Linked DNA regions of Homo sapiens: regions 2, 3, 4, 5, 6 and 7 are each linked to region 1. The links are contacts of gene promoters, found by promoter capture Hi-C in blood cells and fetal thymus (Javierre and others, 2016). All regions are on one chromosome and are shown on one strand. The core of a region is centred on a gene start or on the middle of the fragment in contact, and the rest is flanking DNA. Distances in the headings are between cores, read along the strand shown.

Region 1 (3,763 bases), core at 769-3,268:
AGAACTCAGCTGCAGCAGCAACTCCCCACACTAATCAGGTGGGAATGTTACCAACTGGGATGAGGAGGGAAAGGGTAAGTGGAATGTGGGTGGAGGTGGAGGAGGGAGGAAAACCCTCCCCAGTCTTCAGGCTGCCCAAAAGGATCTTTCTAAGCAATCCACAAATCCTGGGCCAGCTGGGTTCCCCCAGGAGAGGGGAGGATGTACCATGCAGGCCCCAGGGAGCCTCTTACAAGGGTGACCTCAGGTCACACAAACACCCTCAGCTGCCAACTGCACTGACATTCTGGTCACCACACCCCCACTCTGACCTCTAGGCTCAGCCCAGCCCACCAGCAGTGCCCCTCCCGGCCCTCACTGCCTCCCCTGCCAAGCTCCTACCTCCTCCCCCTCCTCACCACAACACGCTGGTAGAGTCCCTCACCCAAGACTCAGTGGAAAATTTCCTTCTCCTTTATGACTGTACTTAAAACACACACGCTCCATTCTTCACCTCTGAATCGACACAGGCAGAGGGCGGCAAGGCTGTCCCACCCCACCGCCCAGCCCAGCCCAGTGCACACACACACACTCTCCCAGCAGAGCCACTGGACTTGCACGCTTTATGGGCTGGAAAGGAGGAGAGAGATGTTTCCCAGATGCCACTCCACCTTTAGCCATCCAAACACAAGTGTCCCAAACACTCCCAGACAAGCCTCCCAGGATGCTCTCGGGGCCCTCCATACACACTAAGGAGTAGGAGGTCTCTTTACAGGGTCTCTCTACTCAAGACACTAAGTCCAGTCTGGAACTGTCACCGTGATGTGACCCTTGGCAGGTTTGTTCTTTTGGTGACAAATCTGTTTTCCACTACCCATTCTCCCCCTCCCCACACACATTCAAGGGGGAAAAAAATAGCCTTCCTGTGAATTTTCACAGCTATGTGGTGAGTGACCCCTCGCACCTTCTGCTGGCTATCAACACTCTCAAACACAGTGCCTCCAGGGCGTGGGTCAATGCCACAGCTTTCTCCTCATTTTCCCCCTTAAATCCACCCAAACTTGGCAGTCCCAGAAGCTCGGTTAGCGCTTGCCTGGGAAGCCTGCAGCTGGGTTGGGTCTCAGTGAAAAGAATGAATTTCATAGGCGCAGGAGATGATGCAGACTCGGAGTACTCCAAGTTTCTCCTGCAACTTTCCGTGCACATGGCGGGCAACTTTTTTTTTTTTTTTTAACTATTCAATTTCCCAGCACTTTAGTTAGCATTCCAAGTTTTGGGAACCCTTTCCCCACCCTTCTCTTCTAGCCCTTCCTCCGTTAGTAGTGAATGGGGACATTTTCCAGATGTCAAAAGGACCGGTAGGAACCTCACGACCTAAGTTAGGAAAGCAAAGGCGGCCAGGGGCTCCCTCAGCCACTGTGAGTTTCCTCTGCAGGGCATCTTCCCCTCTCAGCTATGCCAGCGCCCCCGCCCAAGGACATCGAGTTTCTCCACTCCGCCCCAACCCCGTCTGCCCCTCTCCTGGGGCAGAGGAAAGGAGTGGGGCTCGCCCTGCCTCCCTAAGCAGCGCTGCAGTCCTGGCTGCAGCGTGGGGCTCGGGCGGGGCACCAGGAGCGCTTACCGATGTCGGAGTTGCAGAAGGCGTCCTGGGGGTGGCTGGGCGAGCATGTGCACGCCTCGGCGCCCCAGTCCCCCAGGCTCCAGCTGCCCAGGAGCACGATGAGCCCGAGCCAAGGGGTCATTGCCGCTGCTGCCGCCGCTGCCGGGGCTGCTGCTCGCCTCTCCAAAGTTGCCGTGCGCGCCGCCGGCGGGGCTGCTGCAGCCCGAGCTCGCTCGCCCGCCGGGCCGTGCGGGGCAACCTTGGCCTCCGGCGCGCTGCCCTCCGAGTGCCCGGCGGGACGGGATGGGGCGCAGCGAGGCTGCCTCGGCGCTGGCGCAGGACTCGGCGGGCGGCCTCCCGGCGAAGGAGCAGGAGCTGGAGGAGCAAGAGGAGGAGGAGAAGCCGTCTGAGCGCCCGCCGCCTGCCTGCTGCCCGCTCTGCGCCGCTGCCTGGGCGGCCGAGTGATATAGCGCTGGGCCCCCGGGGACCCCGCCTCGGGCTGTTGGGGCCCGCCCCCTCAGACCAATGGCAGAGCCGCATTACCTCATCGGCCCTCCAAAAAGGGGGCGGGGCCGGGGGCAAGGGGTAACGGGGCGGGGCCGCCCCCGGATCGTTCAGATCCTTATAGGGAATAATGCCGCCGTGGGCACGCGAGTGGGTGGGCTGGGGCGCGCCCGGGACCGGTGCTTGCCGCTGGGTCCTCGGAGCGGAGCCCTCGTGCCCCTTCTCGTCTGCGCCCTGGCCCCACGCCCACCTGGGCCACTGGGTGTCTCTGACCCAAACCAGAACCAACTAACACCCACCCACCCCAGCAGGACCGCTTCCACAGGTGAGGGGTGGCCATGTCCTAGAGACCTTGACTGTGCTTGGTGGAACCAGCGGGGGAATGCTAACTGCTACCCCTCCAGTTTCTCTGGAGAGAGCAGGCACAGAGGAGAAAGACCCAAACTCTCTCTCTTTCTCTCTCTCTCTGGTTCTTACTCTCTGGGATATGGGAAGCCATCTGCTGTTTGCAGCTGGCTATGATATATGATAGAAGACTGTTTTCTGTGCTCTCCCAGAGCAAACGGGGTTCTGTATTCATTCAACAAACACGGTTCAGGATGCTGGGTTAAGCAACACAAAGCCCTTGCCCCCGTGGACATCCATGAATGCACAGGGTGATTTTCTGTGATGCTAGGGCTATGAAGAAAACAAAACAGAGTTCTGGGTTGGACATGACTGGGGAGGGCCTGCTCTCTCTGCGATAGTAAGGGAAGGGCTCCCTGAAGTGCCATCCTCGCTGAGAAGTGGACAAAGACAAGGATCAGCTCTGGGGCAAGCCACAGGAGAGAGGTACCAGGCAGGGGGAACAGCAAGTGCAAAGACCCTGGGCATGTTTGAAAGACAGAAAGTAGAAAGGCAAGAGGAAGTGGTTCCCTGCCCATGGCTGACAGAGCTCCACCCTTCAGCAAGGGATTTGGGGGTGAGCTGATCCAAAACTGTAGTAAAACCAGGAGAACGATCCAGGATCCTAGACGACTAGCTATAATAGATGATTGCAGATAACTAACACAATTACTATCCTTATTATTGACATCTTGATTCTGCTTTGTATTTTTAAAAGCAGGATTCTGTATCTCACCGTATTATAGCTCTCACAATAATCTTTGTGGGTAGGAAAAGCAAGCACAAGTATCACTCCCACTTTCCAGATGAGGAACCGGCACAGAAAGATGGGATGATTGGTGGCCAGCCAGGAACTCGTCACCCCTTTCCACTGCTCCTTCCCATCTGAAGAGAGACATGCATTTCCCTGAACGTCAGCAGCTGTTCCATCTAACTGCAAATGGCCATTTGCAGCTGGGATCTTCCATCTTTCTACACTTTTGTCTCTTTCCCTTTCTCTTCCGCTTCATCCTGTTAGAAATGCCACAAGTTTGGAACAAATAGAAACAGGGAGAAATGCAAGTTCAGCTTCTTTCTCAGAACTCCTCTGTTTACATCTCAGACAAGTGACATTGGGACAGCAGAGGCCGAAGAATTCGTGAGAGATGGTATTTCCAAGAACATTTTTGAAACTCCTTTTTCCCCTTTGAGCACTTTAGCCATAGGAAAGGGAAACCAGTTTCCACATCTTTTTGACTTGTCCCCTCCACCCAGCTTTAAAAACCTTCCCTGCCTTCACTCTAACTGTGGCCTAAC
Region 2 (3,776 bases), core at 3-2,502, 150 kb after region 1:
GCTTGGCATGCATTATCTCATTTAATAAGAGACTCAGATTGTCACAGCGCTGTACAGTAAACACGCGGCATAGTGAGTCAGAGCATACTCTCTCAAATTAGAGTTCCAACCCTGCCTCTGACCAGCTGTGTGAGCCTGGGCTTTGTAGTTCATATCTCTGGGCCTCTGTTTTTCTCCTTCATTTGTGTAATGGGAAAGAGTAGGAGCATATTCTGCTTAGCATTATTGTGAAGATTGAAAGGACCAATAAAAGTGTAAAGTGCAGCCAGGTAGAGTGGCCTGCCATCCCAGCACTTTGGGAGGCTGAAATGAGGGGATCGCTTGAGCCCAGGAGTTTGAGACCAGCCGGGGCAACATGGTGAAACTCCGTCTCCACAAAAATGCAAAAATTAGCCAGGCATGGAGGTACACACCTGTGGTACCAGCTACTCGGGAGGCTGAGGTGGAAGGATTGCTTGAGTCTGGGAGGCAGAGGTTGCAGTGAACTGTGATCGCTCCACTGCACTCCAGCCTGGGTGATAGAGTGAGACTCTGTCTCAAAAAGAAAGAGAGAGAGAGAGAGAGGGAGGGAGGGAGGGAGGGAGGGAGGGAGAGAGAGAGAGAGAGAAAGAAAAGTGTAAAGAGCTTAGAATAGTGTCTGGCAATTAGTACATGCTCAATGAATGCTGGCCGTTGTCATAACTGTTGGAGAATGAATAGAGAAATTTGAGATTGCGTCTGTCTTATGATGGGATAACTCACAGAGCGGGGGAATTGGGGGAAGAGTTCTATAGCATGAGTAAGAGTTCACCTCCAGGAACATCTAATGCTCTGAATTTTATGAAATCAAAGCCTACTAGTCATGAGCCCCTTCTCAGCCTCATCAGCTTTTTCTCCTGGCTTTTTCCCCACTGATTTTCTCATTCCCACAAGGCCCAGTGAGACACTTGGGAAAATATTTTCCAAAATAAATTTCAAGTCATTATTTGTCCTAAACCACCCGATTCTGTGGCCCAGCCCTGTCTACTAATGTTACCGCCCTGTCCCTATTTAGACTGAGGTTTTATAACCAACCAGCCCCTCACCAGGGCTTCCCTGTCCGGCCACCCCCTGCCTGAGTCATCCTGTGTTGTCACAATTCTAGATTTATGATGTTGGCTCTTGTGGTCTCAAAGATGACTCTAGATGGGACCAGCCTTGGGCCCAGCCGCGAAGCTAGTTTTGTTGTGTTCCGCCTCCCACCACCCCATTCTTCCGTGGTGTAGTAAGAAGAGCATGTTCTGGGAGTTGGAACAGGGTTGCCTCCAAGCTCAGCTGTTTCCTTTCTGTGTGATCTTGGACCAGGAGGGCTTTCTCAAAGTCTCAATTTCCTCATTAGTAAATGGGGATGTTTGAAGATGAAATTAAATAGACTATACGAAAATGCCTGTACTCGGTACATACTAGGGGTCATTAACATCTATTGTCACAATTTTGAAACATAATAAACCATCCCAAAGCTCGGCGGCTTAAAAAATAATTATTCTTGCTCTCACAGGTCAGATGGGAATTGGCTGCTCTAGGCCTGGCGCTGAGTGGACCAGCAAGCTAGCCAGGACATGGCTAACTGCAGCAGTACAAGAGGGTCATACCCAAATTCACAAGCACATTTTAAGCCACTGTTTGTGTCACGTTTGCTACCAGCCCATTGGCCAAAATAAGCGACATGACCAAGCCCAGAATTAGGGATAGGGGAAGTATACTCCGCCTCTAGTGGAAGAAACTATCAAGTCACCTGACAACAGGTATTGATACAGAGAGGGGTGAAGAATTAGGAACGATGATACAATCAACTGTAATAGGTGGTCAGGAGATACTTGTTTCCTAATTTCATACACTCCTTCACATCCAGGGGCCTCTTTGTTTTACTTTGTGCCCATCCAAACTCCCTGCAGGGAGAAAATGTAAAATGCACATTCATTGGTATGAGTGGCCAATGACTGTTGTGTGGCACCTCAGAGTAAAAGAGGTGCTTCTTGGACAACAACAAAAATCATAATTGTCCATCTTAGTTGTTTGCTGTGAGCCAGGCTCTGAGCTCAGCGTATACTCTGTGTGTGTGATGTCATTTAATCTTTCAGCAACCTCAAGAGGTAGTACGTTCCCATTTTACAGCTAATGAAACTGAGGCTTTGAGAGGTTAATCAACCTGCCCATGGTCATGTAGCTAATATGTGCCAAACAGGGCTTTACAATGCCAAGTCTCAAATGCAGATATTTCTAACCAATGCTGTGCTCTTTCCATTAAACTACTAAGGGCAGGATTTTCACTGGGGCCAAAACTTTAAGTCCGGGTTTCCCAAACTTCAATCGTTGGTCACAACCTTTACAATTTTTACCATATTTATGTACTGTGTATACTGTAATTCATATAATTATTGATATTTTTAAGTTTTATCTTCAATAAACCTATTTTCAAAGAAACTGATGACTACCATAAATGGAAAACCAGTATCTCCTGACAAAAGAAAATAACCATAAAAAACACAAGAACAAAGCAATATTATTGAATTCATGCTGGATACTCTTGCTTGCTATGGGCTCCAAGCTCTCCAGGAAAGTGGGAGGTTTGCTAATATTGGGGAGGTGTTGAAAGAGCACAGGAACCAAACTAAGACTCTCCTTAATAGAGTCTCAAAAGCTAAGCCAGGTGTAGCGGCTCCTGTAATCCCAGCAATTTGGGAAGCTGAAGTGTGCAGGACTGCTTGAGGCCAGGAGTTTGAGACCAGTCTAGGCAATGTGGTGAGACACCCCCCCAATCCCTACAAAAACTTTTCTAAAAGTGTGTCTGTAGTCTCAGCTACTTGGGAGACTGAAGTGAGAGGATCACTTGTGCCTAGGAGTTCAAGATAAGCCTGGACAAGATAGTGAGACTCCATCTCTACCAAAAACAAAAAAAATGTAAAAAAATATTAAAAATATGTAATCCCAGCACTTTGGGAGGCCGAGGTGGGCGGATTGCAAGGTCAGGAGTTCGAGACCAGCCTGGCCAATATGATGGAACCCTGTCTCTACTAAGAATACAAAAATTAGCCAGATATGGTGGCGCGCACCTGTAATCCCAGCTACTCCGGAGGCTGAGGCAGAAGAATTGCTTGAACCCAGGAGGCGGAGGTTTCAGTGAGCTGAGATCACGCCACTGCACTCCAGCCTGGGCAACAGAGCAAGACTCCATCTCAATAAATAAATAAATAGCTGGGAACAGTGGCACACATCTGTAGTCCTAGCTACTCAGGAGTCTGAGGCAGGAGGGTCACTTGAACTCAGGAGGCCAAGGCTGCAGTGAGCCATGATCATACCGCTGCACTCCAGCCTGGGCTATAGAGTGAGACCCTGTCTCAAAAAAAAAAAAAGAAAAAGAAAAATCTCAAAGCTAGAAAATTCACTGAAAAGGAAATAACTTTCTCAGCATATGATTCAGTCTGTTGATGCTATTTTCAAGCATCACCAAACATCATCTCAGATGCCACCAGGATCTCTGTCCCTACCTCATATGCCTGTAGCCTTGGAAGAGGAGCCCACAGTAGGCTCCGAGAAAAGAACACCAAGAGGCCTTCTGGAGATCCCTGGGTCCCTCCTCTGCTGACCCCCTTGGATTTGGAACTCATAGACATGCAGAGGGGCATTCTGGGTGGTGTCTTCCAAGACCAAAGGCCAGTTTTCTCATGACATAGAATATAAGTAGGAGAGGTAAAACCCAGACACATAAAACAGGTGACCAGACAAGCCCCCAAGCCTTTGGCAGTTACAGGGACACA
Region 3 (3,780 bases), core at 238-2,737, 230 kb after region 1:
CATTGTGCTGCCTGCAAAATTTCTTCTGATTCCTCTAACAACTTTGTGACTTGCATGGGAAGAATGTGTGTCATAGTGCAGCCTAAACACCCATCAAATGGAATTCTACAAACCCAGCCTGATTGATTAGCTTCAGGAGGCCCCTCAGTATTCAGGCAATACAAAGTAATACATCCCCTAGGACACTCTCCGGTTGTGTCTTTCAAAGTCTTTGCAAACTAGCTATTTTCTACCAATTTGTTACCAACCTAGCTAGCTAGGTATCCACCTATCTGTCTGCTACAGATATGTTAAAATATGTTATATGCTAAAGTCCTACCCCCCAAGGTGATGGAATTAGGAGGTGGAGCCTTCGGGAGGTCATGAGGGCAGATCCCTGAGGAATGGGATTAGTGTCTTTCTAAAATAGGCCCTGGGAGCTTGTTTGTCCCTTCCATCCTGTGAGGTTACAGGAATAAATCAGGGCCTCACCAGACACTGAATCCACCTTGACCTTGGACTTCCCAGCCTCCAGAACAGTAAGAAATACGTTTCTGTCCTTTATAAGCCACCCAGTTTATGGTATTTTGTTAGAGCAACCCCAATGGACCCAAGACACTATCTGCTTATTTGTTTTCCATTTCCCTGACTAGAATATACCTGTCTTATTTATGACTGTATTCCCAATGCCTAGCACAGTACCCTCAATAAATATTTGTAGACTAAATACAAAGCCCTGTGGAAGTCCAGAGGAGGAAAGAGAAATTCCTAGGAGCTGGAGGAGGAACTGAGTTTTAGGGTTTTGAGGAATGAGTAGGAATTAGGTAGAGGAGCAAGGAGAGCATTCCAGGAAGGAAACAAGAGCAAAGGTACAGGGAGCCCAGGCTGGTGTCATTCAGGACCTCCCAGAGGCACAGCTCTCCACAGCAGCTAGGAGCAAAGGTCTGGCTGTGCTTTTGCCTGTCAACTCCAGGAAGATTCTAACAGCCTTGCCTGTCCCGTGAGGAGCTTTAATCATCCAGAGGACTTTATGCAGCTGTGACCGTCCGGTCCCTTCTGAAACTGGGGATCATCCTCATTAGCAAGCTTCCCCCTCCAAACAACACTGATGCATAAAATGGCCATGGCTCTGGCCCAAATCAGGGTTGGCAAGAGAAGGAGGAGGGAGGCAGGGAACCTATACCCGCAAGGAGTTCAATAAACCTCCTCTTCCTGGGGTTTCATCAGCTTGGGAGTATAGGAAAGTAAAAACAGCAGACTCTGGGCCCAGACAATCTTCCCACTTCCTGGCTGTGTGACCTCGGGCTGGTCACGTGCTGCCTCTGAGGCTCGTCAACCCCATCTGGGGATATGTGGATGATAATCCCTACTTCCATGACTTCAAGATTGGTATCCACTGTCCAAAGTAGCCACCCTCTCCCCGACCACACAGTAGACCATGCCAGCTCCACATGTGAAATGTATCAGTCCATCCCAATTTTTTAGCTAATGTTCTGAGGCCCAATACATAACCCTTTTCTTCCCCTTCCATATTAAGGACCAATTGAGAATTTGCAGAAAACCATTGCCATAAGCTCCATGGAGGCGGGAATCTTAATCTCTTTTGGCTCTGTGTTCTATTTCCACCACCTAGCAGAGTACCTGGCATACAGCAGTCCCTTAATACATTTTTGGTGAAGGAAGGAAGGAAGGAAGGAAAGAAGGGAGGGAGGGAGGGAGGGAGGGAGGGAGGGAGGATCTCCGTCATCGTTCTATTGCACCTGCCCTAGAACACTCAACCTTGAATCAATCCACCGATGGGCCTTCTCCTTTCCTAAACTGACACTGCTGAGCACAGTTGGAGAAAACCTCATCACTGATCTCATGCTCCTACTACAAATGCCTCATCTCCAACCCCAGCAGGGCCCTAGTGGGTCCTGGTGAAGCTTTTACATCTCCCTAGTCAGTTACCTTTCCCAGTCTCACTGTGGCATTTCCAGAACTTTGCTGCTCTCTTCAAGCCCCACGTCCTTCCCATCAAAGAAGAGAATCCATTCCCCTGTATCAAAGTTCATCTTCCTGCACCTCTGCCTGCCCCCACACCTTCTTTCCCATCTCAGTGGAGTCTTTTCTCCTTTGTAGATTTCATTTTACCTCTGAGTTCTGGCTCTCATTTCCATCATAGCCTCTAGGACTTGGCTACCTGTCCGTTTCTTCTCACTCCTGGCGCTCAATGTTGCTTTCTGAAGGGCATCTTTCAACACTAAAGAATGTTCAAGTCTCATTTAGATTTGAAAAGAATAAATAAGTCTTTGCTGAGCCCTTGTACCCCTTTACCTACCTTCTCAGCCAAGTTTCTTAAAAAGGAGCCTGTAGTTGTCTCCATTCTCTCCAGCTCCCTGAATCAGCTCCCACCACTCCACAAAGTTTGGTCTGGCAAAGATAATTCATGACCTCCAAATAGAAAATCCTGATAAAGTCTTCAGCCCCTTGTTTTGCTTGCTCTCCTCCGGGTTGTGTCACTGTTGTACCCATCTCTTAACACACAAACTTTACGTCACTTTCAGGGACACCATGCTGGCTGCCTTTCCTCCTTTGTCTCCAGCCAGGCTTTCCCAGGCTCCTTTGCAAGCTCCTCTTCCACCCTTCCCTTGAGCATCCATGTGCCCTACGGTTCTGACCTTGCCCCCTCTCTCTTTCTCACTGTCCACAGATCCCTCCATCTTGCACTGTCCAGTTTGGTAGCCATCAGCCACGTGCACCTACTGAGTGCTTGACACATGCCTCTATTGAGATAGGCTGAGTATAAAATACACACCCAATTCCAAGACTAGAGTTACAAAAAAGAGAACATAAAATATCTCAATCATAATTTTTATATAGATTACACATTGAAATGAGAACTTTTTTTATATCGGGTTAAACAAAATACCCTGGCCAGGTGCAGTGGCTCACACCTGTAATCCCAGTGCTTTAGGAGACCCAAGCAGGAGGATCACTTTAGGTCAGGAGATTGAGACCAGCCTCAGCAACATAGCAAGACCCCATCTCTAAAAAAATAAAATAGGCTGGGCGCGGTGGCTTATGCCTGTAATCCTAGCACTTTGGGAGGCCGAGGCGGGCAGATCACCAGGTCAGGAGTTCGAGACCATCCTGGTTAACATGATGAAACGCTATCTCCACTAGAAATACAAAAAATTAGCTGGGCGTGGTGGTGGGTGCCTGTAGTCGCAGCTACTCGGGGGGGCTGAGGCAAGAGAATGGTGTGAACCTGGGAGGCGGAGCTTGCAGTGAGCCGAGATCGTGCCACTGCACTCCAGCCTGGGGGACAGAGCGAGTAAAAAAAAATTAAATAAATAAATAAATATATAATAAAATTAAATTAAATTAAAAATTAGCCAGGCACGGTGGTGCATGCCTGTAGTCCTAGCTACTCGGGAGGCTGTAGCAGGAGGATTGCTTGAGCCCAGGAGTTCCAGGCTGCAGTGAGCTAGGATCGCACCACTGAATTCCAGCCTGGGCACAGGGCATGATTCGGTCTCCTATATATACTTATATATTTATATATATTTTTATGTATGAATTTATATTTTTTATATATGTATATACGTAAACTATTTTATATGTATATGTGTGTGTATATATATGTACATACATACATACACTATTAAAATTATGTTCACCTATTTCTTTTTACTTTTTTTAATGTGGCTAATAGAAAACTTGTAATTATACATGTGACTCTCACTGGAGTTCCAGAGACAACAATGCTTTAGACAATCCCATCCACTCCCATGGTTTCACCTGCATCATTGTGTCACC
Region 4 (3,819 bases), core at 1,039-3,538, 130 kb before region 1:
TTTTTGTCTTTTTAGTAGAGACGAGGTTTTGCCACGTTGGCCAGGCTCGTCTTGAACTCCTGACCTCAGGTTATCCACCCGTCTTGGCCTCCCAAAGTGCTGGGATTACAAACATGAGCCACTGTGCCTGGCCTATGCCTTCACTTTTAAAAGATAATTTTACTGGGTATAATATTCCATACCGACAGTTGTTTTTTGGTTGGTTTTCTTTTTCTTTTCCTTTTTCTTTTTCTTTTTTTTTTTTTTCTGAGACAGAGTCTCACTCTGTTGCCCAGGCTGGAGTGCAGTGGCGCGATTGCTGCTCACTGCAAGCTCTGCCTCCCGGGTTCATGCGATTCTCCTGTCTCAGCCTCCCGAGTAGCTGGAACTACAGACACCCGCCACCACGCCTGGCTAATTTTTTTGTATTTTTTAGTAGAGACAGGGTTTCACCGTGTTTGCCAGGATGGTCTTGATCTCCTGACCTTGTGATCCACCCGCCTCGGCCTCCCAAAGTGCTGGGATTACAGGCGTGAGCCACCGCGCCCAGCCTGGTTTTCTTTTTCTTTTAGCTCTTTAAGGAAGATTTACTACTATCTTCTGGTTTTCTATTTTCTCACAAGAAGCTGTTTATCATTCTTATCTTTGTTTCTCTTTATATAAAATGTATTTTCCCCCCTTTGGCTGCTTTGAAGATTTTCTCTTCACCACTGGTTTTTAATAAGTTGGTTATTCTATGTCCTGCTGTTTATTTTCTTTGTTTCTTCTGCTTATGATTCATTGAACTTGTTAGGTCCAGTTTTCATTAAATGTAGAAAAACTTTGGCCATTTTGTTTTAAATTTTCTGTCCCTACCTCTTCTCTTACTGAGACTTTAATTACTCATATATTAGACTATTTAATATTATCCCATAACTCACTGAGGTTCTGCTCTCTTTTTCTTTCTTTGCTTTTTTTTGTGTGTATTTTTGTCTCTGTGCTTCATTTTGGGTTGTTTTTATTGTTTTCTCTTCAAGTTCACTAGCATTTTTTTCAGCAGCATGATATGGTTTGGCTCTGTGCCCCACCTAAATCTCATGTTGAATTGTAATCCCCGCTGTTGGAGGTGGGGCCTGGCAAAAGGTGCCTGGATCATGGGGGTGGTTTCTAATGATTTAGCACCATCCGCCTTGCTGTCCTCATTATAGAGTTCTCACAAAATCTGGTTGATTAAAAGTGTGTAGCACTTCCCCCTTTGCTCTCTCTCTCTCCTGCTTCTCTGCCATATGAGGATAGTGCTTGCTTCCCCCTTGGCCTTCCACCATGATTGTAAGTTTCTTGACACCTCCCCAGAAGCAGAAGTCTGTTCAGCCCACACAACTGTGAGCTGATTAAATCTCTTTTCTTTATAGACTACCTAGGCTCAGGTAGTTGATAGCAGTGTAGAACAGACTGATACAAGTGTCTAATCTGTTGTTAAGCCTAGCGGTGCATTTTCTATTTCAGATATTATAATTTTTATCTCTACAAGTTTCATTTTTAATTTTTAAAATATGTTTCTTTCTCTCCCATTGTATTGTTTCCATCTACATTCTTGAGAACCTCTTTATAACAGTTGTTTTAACTTCCATTTCTGCTCTTCCCATCATCTCTCCATTTCCACGTCTGTTTCTATTCGTTGATTTCTCCTTGTTGTGGGTCATATTCTTCTGCTTCTTTGCATTCCTCGTAATTTGTGATTGAATGTCACTACTTTTACATTGTGAATGTGATGTGTTGGGTGCTGGGTTTTGTTAGATTCCTTTAAACAGTGGTTTAGTTTTTTCTGAGATGCAGTTAAGTTACTTGTAATAAACTTGATCCATTCAAGACTTGGTTTTAAGCTTTTCTTGGGACAGATCTACATGGAGTGATTGATTATTCTAGTTTGCCTGGGATTAAGGAGTTTTCCAAGACATGGGACTTTCACTGTAAAACTGGGATTGAAGAGTTTCTGAGAAATGGGACTTTTAGTTTTAAAGCTGAGAAAGCCCAAGGCAAACCGGGACAAACTGGTCGTCCTAGATCCAGAGCATGCTGTTGGCCAGGGATAATTCAGTCCCACTATGAAATTTTGAGTAACCTACCCATTTGACAAGGTCTTTACCCTCTAGCTGGTGAGCACATGGGTTCTTCCCAGCTCTGTGGATTCTGGAGATTGTTTCCTAATGGCTTTTTCCTGGCCTTGATTACTTTCCTTTCATGTATGCTCAAATTAGTTACTCAGCGAAAGACATAGATCTCCCTGGAGTTTGTGAGGTTTTTTGTTTGTTTGTTTGTTTGTTTGTTTTATTTTTTCTCTGCAGATTCATCTTTTCCTATACTCTGTCCTGCAAATTTTAGCTGCCATGGCTACCCTGAACTTCAATCTTTGTATCCTTAACTCAGTGAAACTGATGAACTCTGCCTTCTCCCATGCTGTTCTGCTGCCTGGAAACTGCCTCTAGGCAGTAAGCTAGGATAAACATAGGGATAATTTTGTTCCCTCTTACAGGAATCATAGTCCTGAAATGCCTGTTGTCTAGTTCCTGAAAACTGATATGTAATGCAGTTTGTCTGGCTTTATTGTTGTTTAAGATGGGAGTGTATATGTAATCTCTGGTACTTCATTGTTGCCATATGCAGAAGTCTTTACATTTCACACCTCCATATATTTTTTAAATGTATATGTTATAAATACTTGAAGGAGTTGTTCTTTTTCAGGGTACACCAGTTTGGATGCTTTCAGTTTAAGCTTACTAAGACAATGGAATATTTGAAAATAATAATGGCAACTATTTACTGAGTCTCAGCCCTGTGCTGGATGTTTCATATACATTGTCTTGAATCATCACAAAAACATTTAAAGATAGATATTATTGATATCATTACCTCTGTTTTAAAGATATCAAAATTGATATTCAAATCAGTAACTTCACTAAACTCATCAGCTAGTATATTGAACAGCTTACATGTGAATGTAGTCTCTCTGAGTACTCATTTGTCCATACCACAGTGCCTAATGTGTAGTATTAAAATGTTATCCCACCAGCTGGGCACAGTGGCTCACGCCTGTAATCCCAGCACTTTGGGAAGCTGAGGCGGGTGGATCGCCCTGAGGTCAGGAGTTTGAGACCAGCCTGGCCAACATGGTGAAACCCTGTCTCTACTAAAAATACAAAAATTAGCCGGGCGCGGTGGCGGGTGCCTGTGATCTCAGCTGCTTAGGAGGCTGAGGCAGGAGAATTGCTTGAACCTGGGAGGTGGAGGTGGCAGTGAGCTGAGATCACGCCGTTGCACTCCAGCCTGCGCAACAAGAGTGAAACTCCATCTCAAAAAAAAAAAAAAAAAAATACCATACCAAAAGCCTTAGAGGTCAAAATAATTTGTGGTGAAAAGGTTAGCTCATGCAGAATATTTAAGTAATTCTGATAGTAGCGTTTTTTGCGATATAGGTGAATAACTAATTTGTTATTTTGTGTGTGTGTGTGTGAGAGAGAGAGAGAGAGAGAGAGAAAGAGAGAGAGAGAATGAGTCTAGGTGCAGATTTCTATGCGCATGTTTTTGGTGAAGTGAATAAAGGAGCTTTACCTGGCCACATTGACCTTCTTCGAGCCCTGGTGACTTTGAATATGATACTGAAATTGCATTCAATTCCCAAAGTTATTATTTTAATTTGCTAGGTTCCACAATTACCATACACTTAGTGGCTTAAAACAACAGAAATTTATTTTCTTCCAGTTCTGGAGGCCAAAATTCCCAAATCAAGGTTTCAGCAGAGCTGCACACCCTCTGAAGGCTCCAGGGGAGACCTTCCTTGGCTCCTCCAGCTTCTAGTGACTC
Region 5 (3,616 bases), core at 768-3,267, 200 kb after region 1:
GCATGAGCCACCGCGCCCGGCCAGCGCTGTGTTTTGTTATCTATAACATGGGGGAGGGAAAGGATGCTACCATCCATAAAGTGCCTGGTCCCGTTCCTGGCCCTTCTTACATGACAATAAATACAGTCACTTTTAGCCTGGAGGTAATATGGTGGCTGATTCACCCCGTATGCAATGCCATGGCATCCGGTTTCATTTCTTGAGCTCTAACAACTGACTTTAGAAATAGAAGCCTGGGCGACAGAGCGAGACTCCATCTCAAAAAAAAAAAAAAGAATGTCTCCAAATTCTGCTGGTTCTCCCTTTGAAAATCTCCTGGACTGGCCTGGAGGAATTAAAACACTAGCTCATAAGGACATGTGTACAAAGATGTTTAATGAAGTCTCGTTTATAGTAGCAGAGAGAGAATGAATAACACAAATGTCTATTAATAGGAAACCAGTGCACGTGTACATGTGTAGACGGTGCAGCTATTATTAAAACTATCAGGATTGGCTGGGCGCGGTAGCTGACGCCTGTAATCTCAGCACTTTGGGAGGCCGAGGCAAGCGGATCACAAGGTCAGGAGATGAAGACCATCCTGGCCAACATGGTGAAACCCCGTCTCTACTAAAAATACAAAAATTAGCTGGGCATGGTGGCTCGTGCCTGTAATCCCAGCTACTCAGGAGGCTGAGGCAGGAGAATCGCTTGAACCAGGGAGTTGGAGGTTGCAGTGAGCTGAGATCGTGTCACTACACTCCAGCCTGGCAACAGAGCAAGACTCTGTCTCCAAAAACAAACAAACAAACAAACAAAACAAAACAAAACAAAAAACTATCGGGATAGAACTATCTTTATTGACATGGGAGGAGGGGTGTATACAGTGTGACGTTAAGAGATAAGAGCTATTTTCAAAAATACAAACATCAGCCTCAGCCATATCCGTGCATACGTGTTTGCAAAGATTGCACGTGGTGAGGGATGGGCAGGAATACACCCCAGACACACTGGGGAGGTGAGATTAGTTACCTGGTCTGGAGAAGGGGAGTGGGGAAAGATAGAAGAAAATAAAAACATCTGTAGCAAAAATAAGAAAACACTTATGGTATAATATTAAGTGAGAAGATAGATGCAAAATTCTACCTCTAATATTGTTGTAAAGTATCCTGGGGGTTTTATTGGACATATAAAAATTATAAGGTAATGTGGACCAATGCAAACACTGATTTGGTTAGACAATGAGATTGTAGACAATTTTTGTCTTGAATTTCTCTGGTCATTTTAATACTATTATTTCAATAAAGAAGTGTCACAAAAAAAAAAAAAGAAAAGAAAAGAAAAGCTCTGGGAGTGCTCCCACTCCCTCTACCATTTCTTCCCAGTCCAGGCCCAACCAGTGGCATTTACTGTCTTTAGAATGAATTCCAAACTGGCCCCTGGCCCTTCAGTCACCACTAGCACAAATCCATCCTGCCCACAGCTGGCAGGTCGCTCCCCGGTTCCAGAACTATCCTGCTTCCCCACTGTCCATCCAAGCAACCTGAACTCCCCTCTTTGGTTTCAAAGGCCCCCAATAATCTGGCCCCAAATTACCTCTTCTGTGTCCCCAGCACTAGCCCGGAGTCTTGCCAGCCCATACGTGGTTCTAAAAAGATTGCTGTTTCCCACAAGTCAAAGTAAAAAATGGCAAAGGAGGCTGGGCGCAGTGGCTCACGCCTGTAATCCCAGCACTTTGGGAGGCCAAGGCGGGTGGATCACGAGGTCAGGAGATCCAGACCATTCTGGCTAACACGGTGAAACCCCGTCTCTACTAAAAATACAAAATATTAGCCGGGCGTGGTGGCGGGCGCCTGTAGTCCCAGCTACTCCGGAGGCTGAGGCAGGAGAATGGCGTGAACCCAGGAGGCAGAGCTTGCAGTGAGCTGAGATCGCACCACTGCACTCCAGCCTGGGCGACAGAGCAAGACTCCATCTCAGAAAAAAAAAAAGAAAGAAAAAAAAAGGCAAAGGAAAATTTCCCCTAGTATCAGGAAAATCCATTGCTTTGGATGAATTCTGAAATGTTTTCTGTGAAATATCTTACTTAAACATTCTCAGATTTTGCTAGATTGACTTTCTGTGTTCTCTAAATACAGATACAGCACCTACTCCACAATTTCTAGCAATGAACACATTCCTCCAATTTCATTTAAGAACCCTGGAGAAGGACATGCCGTTCAAATATACAATTCTGTTCAGCAATCACCTGCAAAATAGATTTATTGCAGATCAAATCATATTAAGTGGCCGGGAGGGGTGGCTCACGCCTGTTATCCCAGAACTTTGGCAGGCCGAGGTGGGTGGATTACCTGAGGTCAGGAGTTCGGGACCAGCCTGGCCAACATAGTGAAACCCGGTCTCTACTGAAAATACAAAAATTAGCCAGGCATGGTGGCACAGCCTGTAATACCAGCTACTCGGAAGTCTGAGGCAGGAGAATTGCTTGAGCCCAGGAGACAGAGGTTGCAGTGAGCCGAGATTGTGCCACTGCACTCCAGCCTGGCAGACAGAGCAAGACTCTGTCTCAAAAAAAAAAAATCATATTAAGTTGCATAAAATAAATCCTTCCTTCCTATGGGTCTTTGTTTATTAGAGCTCATGAAGAATCTAAACATGCCCCACGGGAAGACCGTGGTGGTCTGCACCATTCACCCTTGGGGGAACTCTGTGCCTTCTATCCATCCACCCACAACCTACTCATCCTTCAGAACCCTGGTCAGAGCCTCATTTCCTCTGGAGCAGGGGTCCCCCACCTCTGGGCCACAGACCAGTACAGGTCCATGGCCTGTTAGAAACAGAGCTGCACAGCAGAAGGTGAGCCGTGGGTAAGTGAGTGAGGCTTCATCTGTATTTACAGCCACTCTGCATCACTCGCACGACCGCCTGAGCCCCATCTCCTGTCAGATCAGAGGCAGCATTAGATTCTCATAGGAGTACTAACCCTGTCGTGAATTGCGCATTCGAGGAATGTAGGTTGCCCTCTCGTTATGTAAATCTAATGCCTGATGATCTGTCACTGTCTCCCATCACCCCCAGATGGGACTGTCTAGTTGCAAGAAAACAAGCTCAGGGCTCCCACTAATCCTACATTATGGTGAGTTGTGTAATTATTTCATCATGTATTACAAGGTAATAATAATAGAAATAAAATGCACAATAAATGCAATGCTCTGGAATCATCCTAAAACCATCCCCTCATCCCCCTCTAGTTCGTGTAAAAATTCTCTTCCACAAAACTGGTCCCTGGTGCCAAAAATGTTGGGCTCTGCTCTGGAGACTTGCACATGACCGCGACGTACCCCACAGCTTCCTGCCATGCTGCCTCACTCTGCTCTTTCATTGTACAGCCCATGGGTCCAAGCAGATAATAAATCCTCTGAGGGCAGAAATCTTGTCTCAACCTTTGGTGTGCCCCAACCAGCACAAGACACATAACTAGCCACATAGTTCTCATTCAGTCGTGCCCACGCAATTGATTTGATATTATTTTATTGATCACTATCATGGGGGGTGGGGAGCATTTATTACACCCCAGATATGCATATGATTCCCAGAAAAGTGTGCCTTGATGGAGAGAGTGCTTGATGGAGAGTCA
Region 6 (3,863 bases), core at 613-3,112, 250 kb after region 1:
AATCTTCCTCTCAAACACCTCTGGATACTTTTTTCAGATCTAATTCTCATGCTATAAAATTCACCCTTCTAAAGTGTTTTCAGTTTTTTGTTTTTTGTTTTTTGTTTTTGAGATGGAGTCTCACTCTGTCACCCGGGCTGGAGTGCAGTGGCGCGATCTTGCTCCACTGCAACCTCCGCCTCCCGGGTTCAAGCGATTCTTCCGCCTCAACCTCCCAAGTAGCTGGGATTACAGGCGCCCGCCACCACTCTCAGCTAATTTTTGTCTTTAGTAGAGGCAGGGTTTCACCCTGTTGGCCAGGCTGGTCTCAACTCTTAACCTCGTGATCCACCCACCTCGGCCTCCCAAAGTGCTGGGATTACAGACGTGAGCCACCGCACCTGGCCTTCAGTGTTTTTTAGAATATCTACAAGGTGGAAGCATCACCGCTGTATAATTGTAGCACATTTTCATTATCCCACATCAATTAGCAGTGACTACCCATTCCTCTCCCCCAAGTCCTTGGCAATTGCTCCTCTGCTTCCTGTCTCTGTAGATCACTGGAATATTTTAAAGCAAATCTCAGATATCAAGTCATTTCACCCATAAATATTTCAGTGAATATTTCTAACACACAAAAGCTTCTTTTTTTGTCTCTAATGTAGCCAAAGACCTAAAAACATAATAATAATTCTTTAATATCATCTAGTATATCATCAGTGTTCAATAGCCTCCTGTTAATTGATGTGTTCCATTGTATGCAGACAAGTCCTTCATATTCACATGGTTAGTATGACATAAGCCTCTTATGATCTATAACAGTTCAGTCTCCTCTGTTTTTTTTTTTTCCTTGTCATTTATTTGTTGGTGGGGGGAGGCCATTTTTCCTGTAGAATTTCCTACATGCTAATTTGGCCAATGGCAGCTCCATGTTGTTCCTCTATCACCTGCATTTCCTGTAAACTAGTAGTTAAATGCAGAGATTTTTATCTGAATCAGGTTCTGGATTCTGGCAAGAATACTTCCCTGGTGCAGGGTGGGGGTAGGGGCCATTATCTTGCATCACATCTGACTGGCAAGTCTCTCTGTTGAGATGTCAAGAGTGGTCCTTGAGCTCAGGTATCGTCTGCCTGATCCACACATTATCAAGTTTCCCATCAGCCTTTCCCCAGTGGCCTTGGCATTGATCAGCATTGCCTCAATCTGTTATTGCATTAGGGGCTGCAGAAGGATGATGTCCTAATTCTATTTCTTTTGCATTTAGTAGCTAGAAAACATCAAAGAGAATATTTCTTCATCACTGTTATTTACCCATTTATTTTGGAATAGTGAGATAGTGTCTTAGCACCCTCCAAACATGACCAATGATCTTTTTGTCATTGGTTATTAACAATTTGATGTATTTCAATCTATTGAAGTCACTATTCTTTCTGATACTCAAGTTATCCCATCTTTGGCTAATGGGAGCCCTTTTGAGTTGATTTATGTGTCTTCTTGACATGGTAGCTTTCCTTTTACTAGCATGATAAGATGTTTTGAACTCATCTTGTACATTTTCTGCCCAAACCTGGAATCAGTCATTTCCCCAAGGAGCCATGGAAGCCTTTCAATAACATAATGGGTTTTAGAGACCACAATCTGGGTGCTAAATATGTTTATTCTTATTTTTTTTTTTGCCATTTCTAGGCCTTTTTGGCAGACACAGGGAAAAATGCATATATGTTTTTAAGAGAAAAATACATCATAAATTCATCCTGATATTTTGAATTCAAATCTTAGATTACAACACTTATTTATTTTATTTTAAAATTGTATCTCTTTTCTCTTATATTTAAAAATCTTGGGTCCTAATAGCATTATTACTATTATCATGGTTTAAAATAGCAATACCATTATTATTACTAACAAGTTGAATAAAATTTTATATTTCTTAGCAGTTTTAAAAAATCTTTTGGATATTTTCTGCTAGGGATATATAGTTACTGTTGTGTTGAGCTTTTTTTTTTTTTTTAATGTGGTTAAACAAATTATAGAACATCTACCATGTGCCAATTACTGATCAGGCTGTTAAGAAATAAATTCTAGTGTGAAGGACAGTCAAATAAGTATATTATAATACTGTGGGTTATAAGTAATAGTAAGAATTTATTCATCTAAGAAATGGAATATCACAGAGATCCACGTGCTCAGCCTTCTGTTACAAAGTCACTTGAAATAATTCTTCTCTGTAAGTTTAAGCCACTAGCTTAATATATTGTTAGACTAACTTTATTTTGTTTTCTGTTTTCAGGAAATTCTTTCTCCAGTTGATTTATTTTGTTTTATAATTAATAACCATTTTTGCTTGATTCCAAAGCCAAAATTATAAAAACAAGATATATACAGTGAGGACTAGCCTCCATCCCCGTCACCTCCCGCTTCCCTTCCCTCTATAGGTAACATTCTCATTTGGTTTTGGTTCATTCCTTCATTGCATTTTTTTTTTTTGAGACAGAGTCTCGCTGTGCTGCCCAGGCTGGAGTACAACGGTGCAATCTCAGCTCACTGCAACCTCCACCTCCTGGGTTCAAGCAATTCTCTTCCCTCAGCCTTCCAAGTACAGGTGCACACAACCATGCCTGGCTAATTTTTGTATTTTTACTAGAGACTGAGTTTCACTATGCTGGCCAGGCTGGTCTCAAACTCCTGCCCTCAAGTGATCCACCCACTTTGGCCTCTCAAAATGCTGGGATTACAGGCGTGAGCCTGCGCACCCAGCCTGTATTTTTTTAATCAAATATGTGCATTGTCCACAAAAAAATTCTTGATAAAAGTTTGCATGTTGGCTGGTCATGGTGACTAATGTCTGTAATCCCAGCACTTTGGGAAGCCAAGGCCGGAGAATTGCTTGAGCCCAGCAGTTTAAGACCAGCCTGGGCAACATGGTGAGATCCTGTCACTATAAAAAATAAAAAATTAGCCAGATGTGGTGGCACATGCCTGTAGTCTCAGCTACTGGGGAGGCTGCGGCAGGAGGATTGCTTGAGCCCAGGAGGTTGAAGCTACAGTAAGCCATGATCATGCCACTGCATTCCAGCCTGGGTGACAGAGGGAGACTCTGTCTCAAACAAAAAAAAAAAGCTTGCATGTTATCCTCATTATTCTGCACCCTATTTTTTTCACGCCATAGCAGTATGTAGATCCTCCTCATTGCCTTCTCTTGACTGCAAAGCATTCGATTGTGTGCATGGAGCACCATGGATGCAGCTGTCCCCTGCTGAGGAGCATGTGGGTCAGCAGTCAATGCACCATCCCGGTGGCAGTCCGCCCTACATACCTTCTTATCCCAAATGCCTCCTCTGGCCAGAGGACCATCCCAACATCCCTCCAGCTCCATCCACAGCTCTAGGCCGCCCACCCCTGTCTTCAGGGTCTCATCTAACTTCATCCTGTCCTCAAGGCTTAAGGTGGAGCTATAAACCTCTGAGATCATAGAACATGGCCCAATTGTTGACAGAAAACTTTCTTTTACACGTAGTGCTGCAATAAACAGCCTTGCGTGCATACCATTTCATGTGTCTTCCATTATATCTTTAGGATGGATGTTTAATAGTGGAATTACTATCATCCGGCTTTTAATTACGTCTCATGTTGTATGTTATATATCTTTGAAATTTGCCATAAATTCTTTCTAGAACAGGTGGCATAAAAATATAAATATTTTAGGCCAGGCACGGTGGCTCACGCCTGTAATCCCAGCACTTTGGGAGGCCGAGGCGGGCGGATCACAAGATCAGGAGATTGAGACCATCCTGGCTAACATGGTGAAACCACGTCTCTACTAAAAATACAAAAAATTAGCCGGGCATGGTGGTGGGCGCCTGTAGTCCCAGCTACTCAGGAGG
Region 7 (3,655 bases), core at 979-3,478, 170 kb before region 1:
CTGTCATCCATTTCTAACGTCTCTTTGATAGTAGATAGCACAGACTCTGGACCTGAAGAAAAAATGCAATGAATGTTTGTTGAGTGAATGCGTGAGTGAGTTGAAGGTGTGACATAGTCATGGAAGGATAGAGCCAGGGAGTGTCCTAGGAGATTATCTAATCCTGCTCCCTTGTTTAACAGCTGAAAGGTTCAGAGAGGGGAAGTGACTTAGCACACACGTGAAATTATTGTTGGAGTCCAAAGTGTGGAGAGCACTAGCTTTCATCTCCTGGGTCCCTGCTTTTCACACTGCATTTCTCCCCCTGCCCATGCCATCTTTTGTTTTTCCCTTTTAAGAAGCCATTAGTCCCTTCTGATGGTTTTAATAGCAAGCAAAAAAATAGCAAAAACAAATGAAGTTTATGTTTTTCACGTTTACCTGTGAGAAGCCTTCTTCTTGGGAGGAGCCTAGGATAGAGTGCTGAACCATAGCTGATAGCCAAAGGAGAGCTCCAAGCAGCGAGGGCTGGGGAATGCTGAAACCAAGGTTGAATGAGCCCCGCTGATTCTGAACACAACATGGACTGTGTTGCCCGTTGCATGACCCTTTAGACTCTCCTCTTCTTTTCTGCTGGAGGAGAGTACAGCATCCTGGTTTGGTGGCACCATTCAGCACCTGCACTGGAGATGAGAAGGAAGGAGGCATGGGAGTCAAAGGGAGTCCATCCTCTTGCACTGGGAAACCCAGCTCAGTTCCTTGGCCTTTAGCTGCTGTGTTTGGAAATTCACCTTTCCTTACTGCCACACCACTTCATCAGCATCAGCACGGCCCCCTGTTAGTACCATTGATAAATGAGACTCCAGTGGAAATTAAGTGGACATTCTGAAGGAGAACTTAGTAAGCCCTTTCACTTCTTGAAGGATGTGTAACAAAACAAACAGAGCTTGTCTTATCTGAACCTGTTCCTTCATTCAAGAAGCACTCACCGAGCACCTGCTCTGTACTTTGTCCTAATGACAGAGCCCTCCACACTCAAAGGGTTCTTTATCTGGTGGGAAGATAGACATTGAAGGCAGTGGCCAAAATGTGTTGCGACGAGGATCTCTCTATCGTAGAGATTTGTCTAACCTTGGGATGTTCTCAGGAAAGACCTCACAGAGAACCTGATGTGCAGCTGGGTTTGGGGACAAGAATTAGGTGAGGGTGAGTGGGCAGATGTGCACATTGGGCCTTCTAGCTAAAGAGCATGATTCAAGTCTCAGCTTGTCACGTACAGGGCAAATGACCAGGGTATGCCATGCATGAGAAGGGTTGGTGGGAGACGAAGCTGACAAAGAAGGTGGAGGGCAGTCTATTCAGGGTGGGCTATTAGTGCAAGGCATGCAACTAAGAATTGTGTCCTAGAGGCAGGATGTATGTATTGAACTTTTTAAGCCATGGAGTGCTGTGACCGTGATTTCATTTTAGAATGCACAGGCTGACAGTGGTCTTAGAAGATTCGCTGGATAGGAATGGTGGCTTGAGACTGGAGGCAGAAAAGCTCAGCTCTGGATTTGGTGCAAAAGTCATCTCATCCTTGAATATGATGCTTGGGTAGGAGGCACATGGAAGGGACTTCATAAGTGTTAAGTGAATGCATGTACATCCTCGCCACTGTGTTCCTTAACCACTTGAGCCATTCTCATACCTGTAATTCGTATTTGAAACTGGAGGAGAAGAGATGACCTATTTTTCTTAAGACTGAGAGGATGGAGTCAGACCCACATGATGTGTTTCAGCTGGCATTTCTTGAAAGCGAGCCATTGCCAACCTCCTCTTGTTCACCACCTTAGTCCAGCCACTTGGACTAAGCCGTTTCACACTGCACATGTCAACTTGCTCCCAATCTGCCTAATCCCCAGCCTTGTGATTCCTTCATCTGTTGATGATCTCCCTCCCCATGCGCTACTGCCCCTGGTTACACCACTTCTCCAGCGTGGCCTTCAGCTTTTGTGTGGCTACTCTACATTTTCTGCCAGCTCTGCTGTTGTCTGTACCATTTGGGGTCTGGCCCACTCCCTGATGAGAGGAGCCCCCACTGGGCTCACCCCAGCCCTGCCAGCAGCCTCTGCCCGGATGTGCTTACACAGTGGATTTGAGCCTTTGCATTTCAGTGGGAATCAAGGGTTATTAATTAACCTAGGGTGGAACCTATTATGAAACATCCCAGAAAACTGGAATGAACCAAAGGGACTTCTGAACTCACAGCAGGGAAAAATGCCTTTTAATTGACTTGGATGACTTCACTGCAAAAATCTGTCTGGCTGTTATGCTAAACTGGAAACTAATCTATTAGATTGTCTAAGGAATCTCCCAGCCCACTCTAAGCAGAGTCTCCTGAGGAGGGGAGTGAGCTGACATATCAACAGGACTTAGGCATTGAAATGACTTCCTTTGGATCATACACAGTCTGGGCGCATTTTCTAGTCCCTCAGGAAGGAGCTGGGAGGCTGATAGCAGAGAACGAGTTTATGTGCCCTACAATGTCTATCTTTAGTATCACATAGGATTTTAGTAGTTCTAAGGCACTATTTACTTTACAATAGAATTCAACCTAAACTGGACCCGTTTTGGTCCAGTCTTGGCCCCCTCATCTCAGGGAGTTTTAGAGGGTGACCTGAGAGAGTTTCCACTGGCGGTGCCTGAGGCAGATGGCAGCTGTACAGCCTGGGCTCTGAAGGAATTAATGATCATAGGCAGTATCTAATCACATGCTTACTAAGTGTCAGGCACACGCTAAGCATTTCATATGGATTAGCGTGTTTCATCCTCATCATGACTCTGATGAACAGGTACTATGAGTTCCCCCATTCTCCAGATGAGGAACCTGAGGCTTACCCAAGGCCACACAGCATACAAGTGGCAGAACTGGAATTCAGAGTCAGTTTAACTGAAGAATCTGTGTTTATGGTTCTTTTTATTTTATTTTATTATTTTTTGAGACAGGTTTCACTCTGTCACACAGGCTGGAGTGCAGTGGTGTAGTCATGGCTCACTGCAGCCTCAACCTCCTGGGCTCAAGCCATCCTCTCACCTCAGCCTCCTGGGTAGCCGCGATGACAGGTGCGCACCACAACACCTGGCTAATTTTTAAAATATTTTGTAGAGACAGGGTCTCACTGTATTGCCCAGACTGGTCTCAAACTCCTGTGCTCAAGTGGTCCCCACAGCTTGGCCTCCCAAAGTGCTGACATTACAGGTGTGAGCCACCATGCCCTGCCTGTTTATGGTTCTTAATCTTTATGCTGGCTCATCTGGGAAGGTGTATCCTGAAGCAGTAAAATCCAGGGAAGGCTTGGTCACTTTCCTCTCATGCATAAAGGGCTGACCTGTGCATTAGACTTGTTTTGGGGGTCTCAAGCTCTGCACACAAGGCCCTCCATGAGCTTGCCCCTGCCTGCCTTTCCTTGCTCATCTCCTCCCGTGCTCTACCTTAGACTTCGGTCTCACCAAACTGCTGTGGTTCCCCAGTGCCCACCCATGGTAATACCATCTTGGAGTCACATCTCCATGCCTTTGCTTATGCACGTCTCTCCTCCTGGGACATCCTTTCTTAGATTTTGCCATAGATTCTTCAACATTAGCTCCAACATGATGTCTGTGCTGCTTCCTCTGCCCTCCCCCTCCATCCAGG

What was found. The method cuts DNA at HindIII sites, captures the fragments that hold promoters and counts their contacts. A CHiCAGO score of 5 or more calls a contact.
Region 2: a contact is called between a fragment that was not itself captured here and the fragment with the promoter of TIMP3 in region 1, in 11 of 17 cell types (megakaryocytes, monocytes, M2 macrophages and 8 more). The highest score is 16.4, in megakaryocytes.
Region 3: a fragment that was not itself captured here is called in contact with the fragment with the promoter of TIMP3 in region 1 in 7 of 17 cell types (megakaryocytes, M1 macrophages, M0 macrophages and 4 more); the score reaches 10.7 in megakaryocytes.
Region 4: a contact is called between a fragment that was not itself captured here and the fragment with the promoter of TIMP3 in region 1, in 1 of 17 cell types (erythroblasts). The highest score is 6.1, in erythroblasts.
Region 5: a contact is called between a fragment that was not itself captured here and the fragment with the promoter of TIMP3 in region 1, in 1 of 17 cell types (fetal thymus). The highest score is 5.6, in fetal thymus.
Region 6: a fragment that was not itself captured here is called in contact with the fragment with the promoter of TIMP3 in region 1 in 10 of 17 cell types (erythroblasts, megakaryocytes, M1 macrophages and 7 more); the score reaches 10.3 in erythroblasts.
Region 7: a fragment that was not itself captured here is called in contact with the fragment with the promoter of TIMP3 in region 1 in 3 of 17 cell types (erythroblasts, megakaryocytes and fetal thymus); the score reaches 8.8 in erythroblasts.

The regions. Positions count from the first base shown.
Region 1 is chr22:32,799,960-32,803,722 of GRCh38, reverse strand. It overlaps TIMP3 (TIMP metallopeptidase inhibitor 3), which reads right to left and starts at 2,018. Exons shown (of 5, transcript NM_000362.5): 1 at 1,601-2,018. The coding sequence starts at 1,721. The region is part of intron 6 of SYN3 (synapsin III); the gene reads left to right. The HindIII fragment of the contact is 16,798 bases long and covers 1-3,763 here.
Region 2 is chr22:32,647,047-32,650,822 of GRCh38, reverse strand. All of the region lies in intron 6 of SYN3 (synapsin III), which reads left to right. All of the region lies in intron 1 of LOC105373002 (a long non-coding RNA gene), which reads right to left. Among named protein-coding and RNA genes, the nearest start is that of SYN3-AS1, 74 kb to the right of the region's middle. The HindIII fragment of the contact is 8,009 bases long and covers 1-3,776 here.
Region 3 is chr22:32,565,256-32,569,035 of GRCh38, reverse strand. The region is part of intron 7 of SYN3 (synapsin III); the gene reads left to right. Among named protein-coding and RNA genes, the nearest start is that of SYN3-AS1, 7.8 kb to the left of the region's middle. The HindIII fragment of the contact is 839 bases long and covers 1,068-1,906 here.
Region 4 is chr22:32,934,959-32,938,777 of GRCh38, reverse strand. The region is part of intron 3 of SYN3 (synapsin III); the gene reads left to right. Among named protein-coding and RNA genes, the nearest start is that of SYN3, 120 kb to the left of the region's middle. The HindIII fragment of the contact is 890 bases long and covers 1,844-2,733 here.
Region 5 is chr22:32,599,637-32,603,252 of GRCh38, reverse strand. All of the region lies in intron 6 of SYN3 (synapsin III), which reads left to right. Among named protein-coding and RNA genes, the nearest start is that of SYN3-AS1, 27 kb to the right of the region's middle. The HindIII fragment of the contact is 8,146 bases long and covers 1-3,616 here.
Region 6 is chr22:32,548,492-32,552,354 of GRCh38, reverse strand. The region is part of intron 7 of SYN3 (synapsin III); the gene reads left to right. It overlaps LOC124905103 (a long non-coding RNA gene), which reads right to left. Exons shown (of 3, transcript XR_007068067.1): 3 at 1,281-3,863. Among named protein-coding and RNA genes, the nearest start is that of SYN3-AS1, 25 kb to the left of the region's middle. The HindIII fragment of the contact is 2,479 bases long and covers 623-3,101 here.
Region 7 is chr22:32,966,220-32,969,874 of GRCh38, reverse strand. All of the region lies in intron 3 of SYN3 (synapsin III), which reads left to right. Among named protein-coding and RNA genes, the nearest start is that of SYN3, 90 kb to the left of the region's middle. The HindIII fragment of the contact is 4,613 bases long and covers 1-3,655 here.